2 separate regions of the Homo sapiens genome follow, and region 1 is linked to region 2. The links are contacts of gene promoters, found by promoter capture Hi-C in human tissues and cell types (Jung and others, 2019). All regions are on one chromosome and are shown on one strand. Each heading gives the region's core, a stretch centred on a gene start or on the middle of the fragment in contact. The rest is flanking DNA. Distances are from core to core; before and after follow the strand shown.

Region 1 (4,009 bases), core at 230-2,729, 260 kb before region 2:
ACATGCTCAGGGATGTTGCTATATAGAGGTTATAAGGTTATCTTCTCTGCTGGAACCTCATAAAGAGGCTCCTGATAACATAGAAAGAGTTTACACAGAACATGGTGGGAAGAGGCTGTTGTCCTAAAACACCAAATTGGTGGGAACTGAAAAGAAGAAGGTGAGTGTGAACTTGAGGTGGAGGAAGATCTAAAAATTCTTACCATGGCCCACTCCAAGGAGAAAGTGGGAATTATTCTCTGCTAACTCTAGATGTCCATGTGGTCCTAATGACCAGATTATCCATTAAACAATACCTTTTGCCAATAGATAGCTGGAAACCATGGCATTCGATGAAAATTTATTGAGTGTCTACTATGTGTCAGGCATTGTCCTAGGTACTAGGGTCATATCAGTAAACAAAACAGACAAAATCTGCCCTTATAGGGTTTACATTCTAGTAAGGAGATACTTGACAATGAAGTAAACAGGTCAAATGTGTGTTTTTTATTTGCTTGTTTGTTTTCTATTTTTTTGGTTTTTTTTTTTTTGAGACAGAGTCTCATTCTGTCACCCATGCTGGAGTGCAGTGGTGTGATCTTGGCTCACTGCAATCTCCGCCTCCTGGGTTCAAGTGATTCTCCTGCCTCAGACTCCCAGGTAGCTGGGATTACAGGTGTGCACCACTTCGCCTGGCTAATTTTTGTGTTTTTAGTAGAGACAAGGTTTCACCATGTTGGCCAGGCTGGTCTTGAACTCCTCAGGTGATTCACCCACCTCAGCCTCCCAAAGTGCTGGGATTATAGGAGTGAACCACCGCACCCAGCCCAAATGTGTTTTATATCAAAAGTTGATACATGCTATGGAGAAGAATATGGAAGAAAGGACATTAGGAGTGTTAGGAGGTCAGGGTAGACAAATAAGCCTTCCTTAATAAGACAATACTTGAGCACAGGCTGAAATAAAAGAAACAATAAAGAACAAATGCAAAGCAAGTTTCCAGTAGCTCCTAGACGGCCCTCCAGGCCTGATTTGTTGAGCTTTTCCTTAAACCAAGAAGATAACAAAAATGAAGAGCTGGCAAGGCTCTCTACCAAGGCAAAGTCACAGGACTGGCAGAACCTGGCATTAGCAGGCTAAAATGGTAGCTAACAAATCCTGCCTCTCAGGAAGGATAAAGGCCTCCAGGGCCAGAACTCCCCACTTTTATAGCAGAACTTTAAATTCCTTTGCTTCTTTCTTTCTCATATAGATATCACACACTACATAACACACACACACACACACCAGTTTTTAATGGAATAACTGACAACAAAACACTTCCTCACTCCTTTTGGAAGCTTGGAGGCAAACTCTTAGAATGTCTATGATTTCACCAAGTTACTCATGGGATAAATCTATCAAAGCCAAAGAAATTGGTTGGAAAGTGAAGGTTTGAACATAAGCAGTATAACACTCTCTTCTACTGAAACAAAAGGTTAAAAAAATAGTCCCATCAAATTAGCTAGCCATTCTCAGAGTTAAGTCTGTTTCTGGAAGTAAGCCAGATCCCTGTGATGCCCTTAGGAAGTTCGAGACACTAATGTGACTGTGATATCTCACCTCTCATTCATCCTCTGAATCAACATGGGCCTCCTCTTGTATGTTCTATGGAAAAAGCAAGGGGTTTTGGGGTTAGATATGGGTTCTGGGTTCAAATTATCCCAGCTCCGTGTTTTACAGAAACTTGCTTTTTGGCTTAATTTTCTTATTTTTTCTTTCTTCACTCACAATCTCCCCCACCTAGTGCATATCCCCAAGAAAAGATCTGTTTTTCTTGAATGTATTATTGTATTAACCTCCTCATGAGACCTCCAAGGGACATTCTGGAGTAACAGTGGACGGGCCCACACTGTTTTATAAGAGCTTTCTGTTCCTCTGTCTACCCTTCCTTTACACAGCTTTTAAAACCCTGTCCTCCCACGAAATTCAGCTCTGCCTCAACTTGTATAGCATGTTCAGCAAAACAGAAGACTCAATAATTCTACTTCCATATCCTAGCTAATGATGTCCACTCTCCAGGCCATCTCAGGATCCAAGACAGCTGTGGAGCTCAAGCCATCACATCTGTATTCTAGGCCAGGAAGAGAAGAGGCAGCAAGACAAGAAGAGTGCCTCCAAGCTGACCCACCTCCCTTCAAGAAGCCTGCCCAGAAGCCCCACACAATATTTCCACTTACCTCTCACTGGCTAACACTTAGTAACAAGACCACACATGGCTGCAAGAGAGACAACAAAAGTGCCTTGTAAAACATGAGGACCTGTTATTACAAAGGAAGGCAAGAACAGATGTTTGGGTGGGCCACAAATGATCTCTACCAAAAGAGTATAACAAAGAGAACAGGCATGGACATGGGAGGTCATCCAGATGTGGATCCCACACAGAATGAGGATCTCACCCCCTCCTGCTCTCATGGCTTTTCACCTTTGCCCATGCCCACCACCAGCCTGGAGGCTCTTCTGCCCTTCTTTATACTTTTTTTTAAGATGCAACTAATATGACAACTCCAGGAAATCATCCTTCACCATCACCCAGTGCCCTACCCCTCAAACCTCTGTGTTTTTGCATATTATTGTGCTTTTCTCACTTCTTATAATTAGGTCTTTACTGATTTATCAGAATAAGATCCAGAATAAGAATACATCCTTGCACTTTATTAAGTGCTACTCATTTATTCCTATTATTTCTCTTTTTTTCCTTTGTCTTTCTTACTGTCACTTTTCCATATTTTTCTTTCTCTCATTCCCTCACCTGTTCATTGGACCTAACAGGAACATTTAAGGTAGGTCACCATTCAGCTCCACTGATGGTCTATAAAGTCAAAGAGGATTCTGATCTTGAATCTATTATATTAAAGGTTCAAAGTTAAATGGGTCGTTTAGGTCCATTACACCTAAAAAGTCAATACCGCTCCAAGCTGTCTTAAGATACTCTTAGGAAATAGTTAATGCTCTAGGAGAATCTGGTCCAAATTAAGCCATTTCAGTGTCCTTGACCCTAAGAAATGACAGAGCTCCCCTTATAGAATACCATGACAAAGAGTGTGGCAAGGCACAAAAACATCTTTTGCAGGGTGTGTGTAGATTTATGTGAGTTGTGTGAGTTCTCGAGTTACATTAAGATAGCTTTTCCTAACCGAGTCTTCGAGATCACACCCCCATGGTTGGGGAAGATTGAGGAACTGGGAAGACCCTAGTCAGGAGGGAGCAGGTGGGATGCAGGCTTCCTTTCCATAAGCCCTTTGTATCCAAAGGTCTCTGCTTGTCTCTCAGCTTCATATCTTGGAGGTGGGCTACAACAGGGATTGTGGCAGAGGTGGTAAATGCATGGATGAGCTTTCTAGGAGATGAGAGCTAGCTTCAGGCATTCCACAAAAAGGGCCAAGAAGCATGAGGGAGAAATTCCCCAAGAGCAAGGCCTAAAGCCATGGAGTGCAAGCCATTTCTTACAAAGCAAATTATCAAATTTCTTATAAACTTTTAGATTGATCTCCTTTTTACGATCTTCTGTTTTTTAGTAAAGACATGTTTAAATGTCCCATATGTACCTTTATGGGCTACACAGTATAAAGAGAGACATCGCAGGTCAACACTTGCCCTAGGGGTTAAAAAGAAAAAAATTTATTCTTCCTCCTTCTCATCCTTCCTGTTCTCAGTAGTAGCTGAAATTATAATTGCCAAAGAGACAAAAATAATTTACTTTTTCTAAGAAAAGGTAATATTTAAAGTATAAGAAAAATTTTTAAATTTCCTGCCAAAAAAAAAAACTAACCAGGGCAAAATGGGAAACATCTAACATTTCGGGCTTGGACTCCTGTTCTGCCAAGTACTGAGTGACCCCAAACCAGCCACTTAACGTTCCCAAACGTCAGTTTCCTCAGCTATAAAAGAGAGATCTTAAAATCTACTTCACAGTAATGTCATGAAGATTGAAGATTTTAGACTATAAATATAAATTGCATGTCTTGCATTAAGAGTAGATTTCAATAAA
Region 2 (4,249 bases), core at 755-3,254:
CTTGGCTCCCTCTCACAGCTGGGCTGGTTACAATAATCAGGGAGACTTTCATCTTTCATAGCCTCCTAGGTCTCCCCTCTGCCCAGCTCCTCCTCCTCTGCGTTCCTGCAAAGGCCAGCCTCTCTGCACCCTGGCTTCCTTCTGCCCTTCCCGCTCTACACAGCAGTCTCCCGAAGGCAAAATGGCTTGTGGGTGGACACAGCCCTGCAGTGGACTTTTACAGGTGGTGTTTGCAGTGATGGCAATGGCTGCCCGCACAGAAGTCGGCATGAGAAGCCTGCCACGATGAAATAAATGAGATCACTCCCTCCCTTTTCATTCCCGCACCCCTCTTGCTGCAATGTGGGATCCATCTCACAGTCAGGGTACCCCTTTCCATTCGGCGTAACATGATTTTACCAAGATTAAAATTGGGGAACATGTAATTACAGCTTGTGTAATTTCTAAGCATTCTATAAGTGCTGCCCAAAATACAGTATGGATCCAGGGAGTGCACTTAGTTTTGGGTATGACTGATACTGCCTGGAAGTGGGGTCTGCTGTCTTCTACTACTGGGCAAGATACAGATTCGTGATAGCTATTTCTTTCTGTTTGAAGAGCTCCTTTGAAATCACCTCTCCCCATCTTGGGTTCTCAGGTCATCTCAAGGCGTCGGTCAGCGCGGCAGAGTCGGGAACCTGCCATCCTAGAGCAATACGCCCCGAGTGACAGCCCTGACAACCGGAGTGATGGATCGGGACTGGAAAAGTGGTGCTGGGAGCCAGGCAGTGACACCAGCGCGCCTCCACTGGCCGCCGAGCGCACGGAGAAGTGGGCTCCCCAGAGTTCGGCACCCAAAGGACCAACTTCGCCTCCGGAAAAGCGGCGGATCCGGAACTTGGATGTCAGGACTATGACTACGTAAAATCTCTGCCCAGGGCGAAGCTAGCAATGCACACTGTATCAGAAAGGCGCAGGGAGTCGGGAAGGGTATTGTTATTTTTAATTAAAAGTTTTTATCCCGAAATTTGCCTGGGGAAAGCAAGTGCTTTTTCCCCCGGAGTGAGAAGGATGGGGGGGCGGAGGGGTTGTGTTGCCGAGCAGCGCTTAGAGAGAGATCCCCCTCCAGGGACACCCGCCTCGCCCGTGATCTCGGTCTCTCCTCGTAGCAGCTGGGCGCGGTACAGTGAGGAACTTCACGCCCCTCAGCAGGACACGGTAAGAAGCCTGTAACACACCAGACACCGAGCCTCTAACGCAGGGCGCAGGCACAGCGCGCACAGCCTGGGGTCCCGCGCTTGGTCGCCGACCATGTCACTCCAGAAGGGAGACAAACTTGCAGGCTTCAGACAAGACGGGCTCAAAGTAGTTGGAGCTGCCTACGCCGCGTCCCGAGAACAGTGGGTGCCTCCGAGGCTCGGGCGCTTCCAAGTGAACACACCAAGGGGAGGCCAAGTAGGGGAAGGAGAGCGGGGCCGAGGAGAGCCGGAGCAGCTCTGGAGAAGGACCCGGGCTCCCGAGGCGAGGCCTGCCCCCAGGCGGCCTCTGGGAGAGGCTTGAACTCCAGCGTCCCAGAGCCCGCGCCGTGCGATCCCTCCCACCCCACCCCACCCCACCCCACCCCACCTCGGACACACACGGCGGGCGGGGTTACAGCCCCCGCCAGCATCACCCCCCACCCACCCAGTGGTGAGAAGGGAGAGAGGAGAGAGAGCGGCCGGAAAGGAGGACGGGGCGCAGAGCTCAGGGTCCCGGAGAAGTCCCGTCCCAGGCGGGGGACCCCAGGGCGAGGAAGGCCCAGTCGGGGGGAGGGGAGGAATCCCGGGAGCGGCCGAGACCGAGGCAGCGGCGGCGCGCGGCGCGGCCCCTTTAAGGCTCTCCCCGCCCACCGATGGAGCCGGCCTCAGCCCGCCGCTCTCCCCGCCCCGGGGTCCCGGCGAGAGCTGCGATTGGGCGGGCGCGGCGATCCCTTTGAAGTGTGGCTGCCGATCGCGGCTATTTGACGTGCGGCTCGAGGAAGGCGAAGGTTTTTGTGTTGCTAGCCGGGGCCAGCGGCGGTGGCGGCGGCGGCGGAGGCGTCGGTGGAGGAGGGGAGGCGGCGAGGAGGCGCAGCTCCCGCTGCACCGCGATCGACGCTGCGGAGCGAGCCCACCCGCCCCGGGAGCTCGCCTCCCCGGTGCTCCCCCGCCCTCCCCGCCCCCCCAGCGGCGCTGCCTCCTCCAAATGAGCGATTCGCCCGCTGGATCTAACCCAAGGACACCCGAAAGCAGCGGCAGCGGCAGCGGCGGCGGCGGGAAGAGGCCGGCGGTGCCGGCAGCGGTGTCCCTCTTGCCACCGGCGGACCCCCTGCGCCAGGCGAACCGGCTCCCGATCAGGGTCCTGAAGATGCTGAGCGCTCACACCGGTCACCTCCTGCACCCGGAGTACCTGCAGCCGCTGTCCTCCACTCCCGTCAGCCCCATTGAGGTCAGTCCCCGGCCGCTGCCCCCGGGCGCCGGCCCCATTCCTCCCACCGCGACCGGGACCCTGACCCAGCTCCCAGCGCCCCGGGGCTCGGTGCGACACCCAAGTCTGGTCACGCTGGCGGGCTGAGTGAGGAGGGGAAGAAAACCGAGGGATCAGAGCCCACCAGGGCTTCCCCAGGCTTCCCCGTGGAAGGGTCTCCTTCCACGCTCGCCCTTCGGAGCTCCGTGTTTTCTCTCGGATTGGATTTGCTCCTGGAGTCCCCTCTGGGTCCTTTACTTTTCCTCTGATCCCCAGTTTCCAGCCAGGAGTTGGTCTCTGCTGGGTCTTCCCCGCCCCCCACGCCGGGCTGTTTTCTTTGAAGCCCTGGCTGCCCGGGTCCCACTTCGCCTCTGTCCCATCCGGTGAGGGCGCACGGCGCCCTGGCGCTCCCGATCCCGGATCTTTCTTCCTGCCTCTTCCCTGGGTGCCCTCCCCGGGAGGGAGGGGCTACGGAGAGAGCGCCAACTGCAGCCCCTCCTTTAGAATCCGCGCTCCCCTCTCCTACCCCGCGGCGCCATCGCCAGAAACCCGTCCCAAGCGAAGTTCCCCCAAACTAAAGGAATAAGTTTTTTCCTGGGCCTGGAGGAGGGGGACATTAGAGGGAAGTGGCGAGTCACAGCCCCGACTCCAGAGACGTCACCTTCTCCCGCAGGGGTCCTGGGTGAACTCCTTCCGCAGGGCCTGCGGCGCACCCCGGGACCCAGCGGCAGTGTGGGCGCAGTTCCGCCAGCTGCCGCGCCCGGCCCGGCCCTCGCTCGCAGACCCTCTCCCCAGGCCCGCCCCGCCCCGTGGCGCCGCCGCCCAGCTCCCCGGGCGCCCCCGCTCGCCCCGCAGGCCTCTGAGTCTCACTCCTTCTCCCTCCCCCTGCTTCTGTCTCCCACAGCTGGACGCCAAGAAGAGCCCCTTGGCGCTGCTGGCTCAGACCTGCTCGCAGATCGGCAAGCCGGACCCGCCGCCCTCCTCCAAACTCAACTCGGTGGCGGCGGCGGCCAACGGGCTGGGAGCGGAGAAGGACCCCGGCCGCTCAGCCCCGGGCGCCGCCTCCGCAGCCGCGGCCCTGAAGCAGCTGGGGGACTCACCGGCCGAGGACAAGTCCAGCTTCAAGCCCTACTCCAAGGGCTCCGGCGGCGGCGACTCCCGCAAAGACAGCGGCTCCTCCTCGGTGTCTTCCACCTCCTCCTCGTCCTCCTCGTCCCCGGGAGACAAGGCGGGCTTCAGGGTCCCCAGCGCCGCCTGCCCGCCCTTTCCCCCGCATGGAGCGCCGGTCTCCGCATCCTCGTCCTCGTCGTCGCCCGGCGGCTCCCGCGGCGGCTCCCCGCACCACTCTGACTGCAAGAACGGCGGCGGGGTTGGCGGCGGGGAGCTGGACAAGAAAGACCAGGAGCCCAAGCCCAGCCCGGAGCCGGCAGCCGTGAGCCGCGGCGGCGGTGGGGAGCCCGGGGCGCACGGTGGCGCCGAGTCCGGGGCCTCCGGGCGCAAGTCCGAGCCGCCCTCGGCGCTGGTGGGGGCCGGCCACGTGGCGCCGGTGTCTCCCTACAAGCCGGGCCACTCGGTGTTCCCGCTGCCGCCCTCCAGCATTGGCTACCACGGCTCCATCGTGGGCGCCTACGCCGGCTACCCGTCTCAGTTCGTGCCTGGCCTGGATCCTAGCAAGTCCGGCCTCGTGGGAGGCCAGCTGTCTGGGGGCCTGGGCCTGCCGCCGGGCAAGCCCCCCAGCTCCAGCCCGCTCACCGGGGCCTCCCCGCCCTCCTTCCTGCAGGGATTA

Evidence for each region. The method cuts DNA at HindIII sites, captures the fragments that hold promoters and counts their contacts. A contact is called where the count stands out against the background at its distance.
Region 1: a fragment that was not itself captured here is called in contact with the fragment with the promoter of ZNF703 in region 2 in 4 of the 25 tissues and cell types used here (IMR-90 fibroblasts, liver, mesendoderm cells and 1 more).

What each region holds. Positions count from the first base shown.
Region 1 is chr8:37,429,551-37,433,559 of GRCh38, forward strand. All of the region lies in intron 3 of LINC01605 (long intergenic non-protein coding RNA 1605), which reads right to left. Among named protein-coding and RNA genes, the nearest start is that of LINC01605, 170 kb to the right of the region's middle. The HindIII fragment of the contact is 4,324 bases long and covers 1-3,641 here.
Region 2 is chr8:37,693,778-37,698,026 of GRCh38, forward strand. It overlaps ZNF703 (zinc finger protein 703), which reads left to right and starts at 2,005. Exons shown (of 2, transcript NM_025069.3): 1 at 2,005-2,445; 2 at 3,368-4,249. The coding sequence starts at 2,203. It overlaps LOC124901932 (a long non-coding RNA gene), which reads left to right and starts at 153. Exons shown (of 2, transcript XR_007060887.1): 1 at 153-223; 2 at 638-1,006. It overlaps LOC124901933 (a long non-coding RNA gene), which reads right to left and starts at 1,904. Exons shown (of 2, transcript XR_007060888.1): 1 at 1,663-1,904; 2 at 968-1,206. RefSeq lists silencers at 644-828, 1,616-1,965, 2,016-2,115 and enhancers at 1,850-2,393, 2,394-2,936. The HindIII fragment of the contact is 17,905 bases long and covers 1-4,249 here.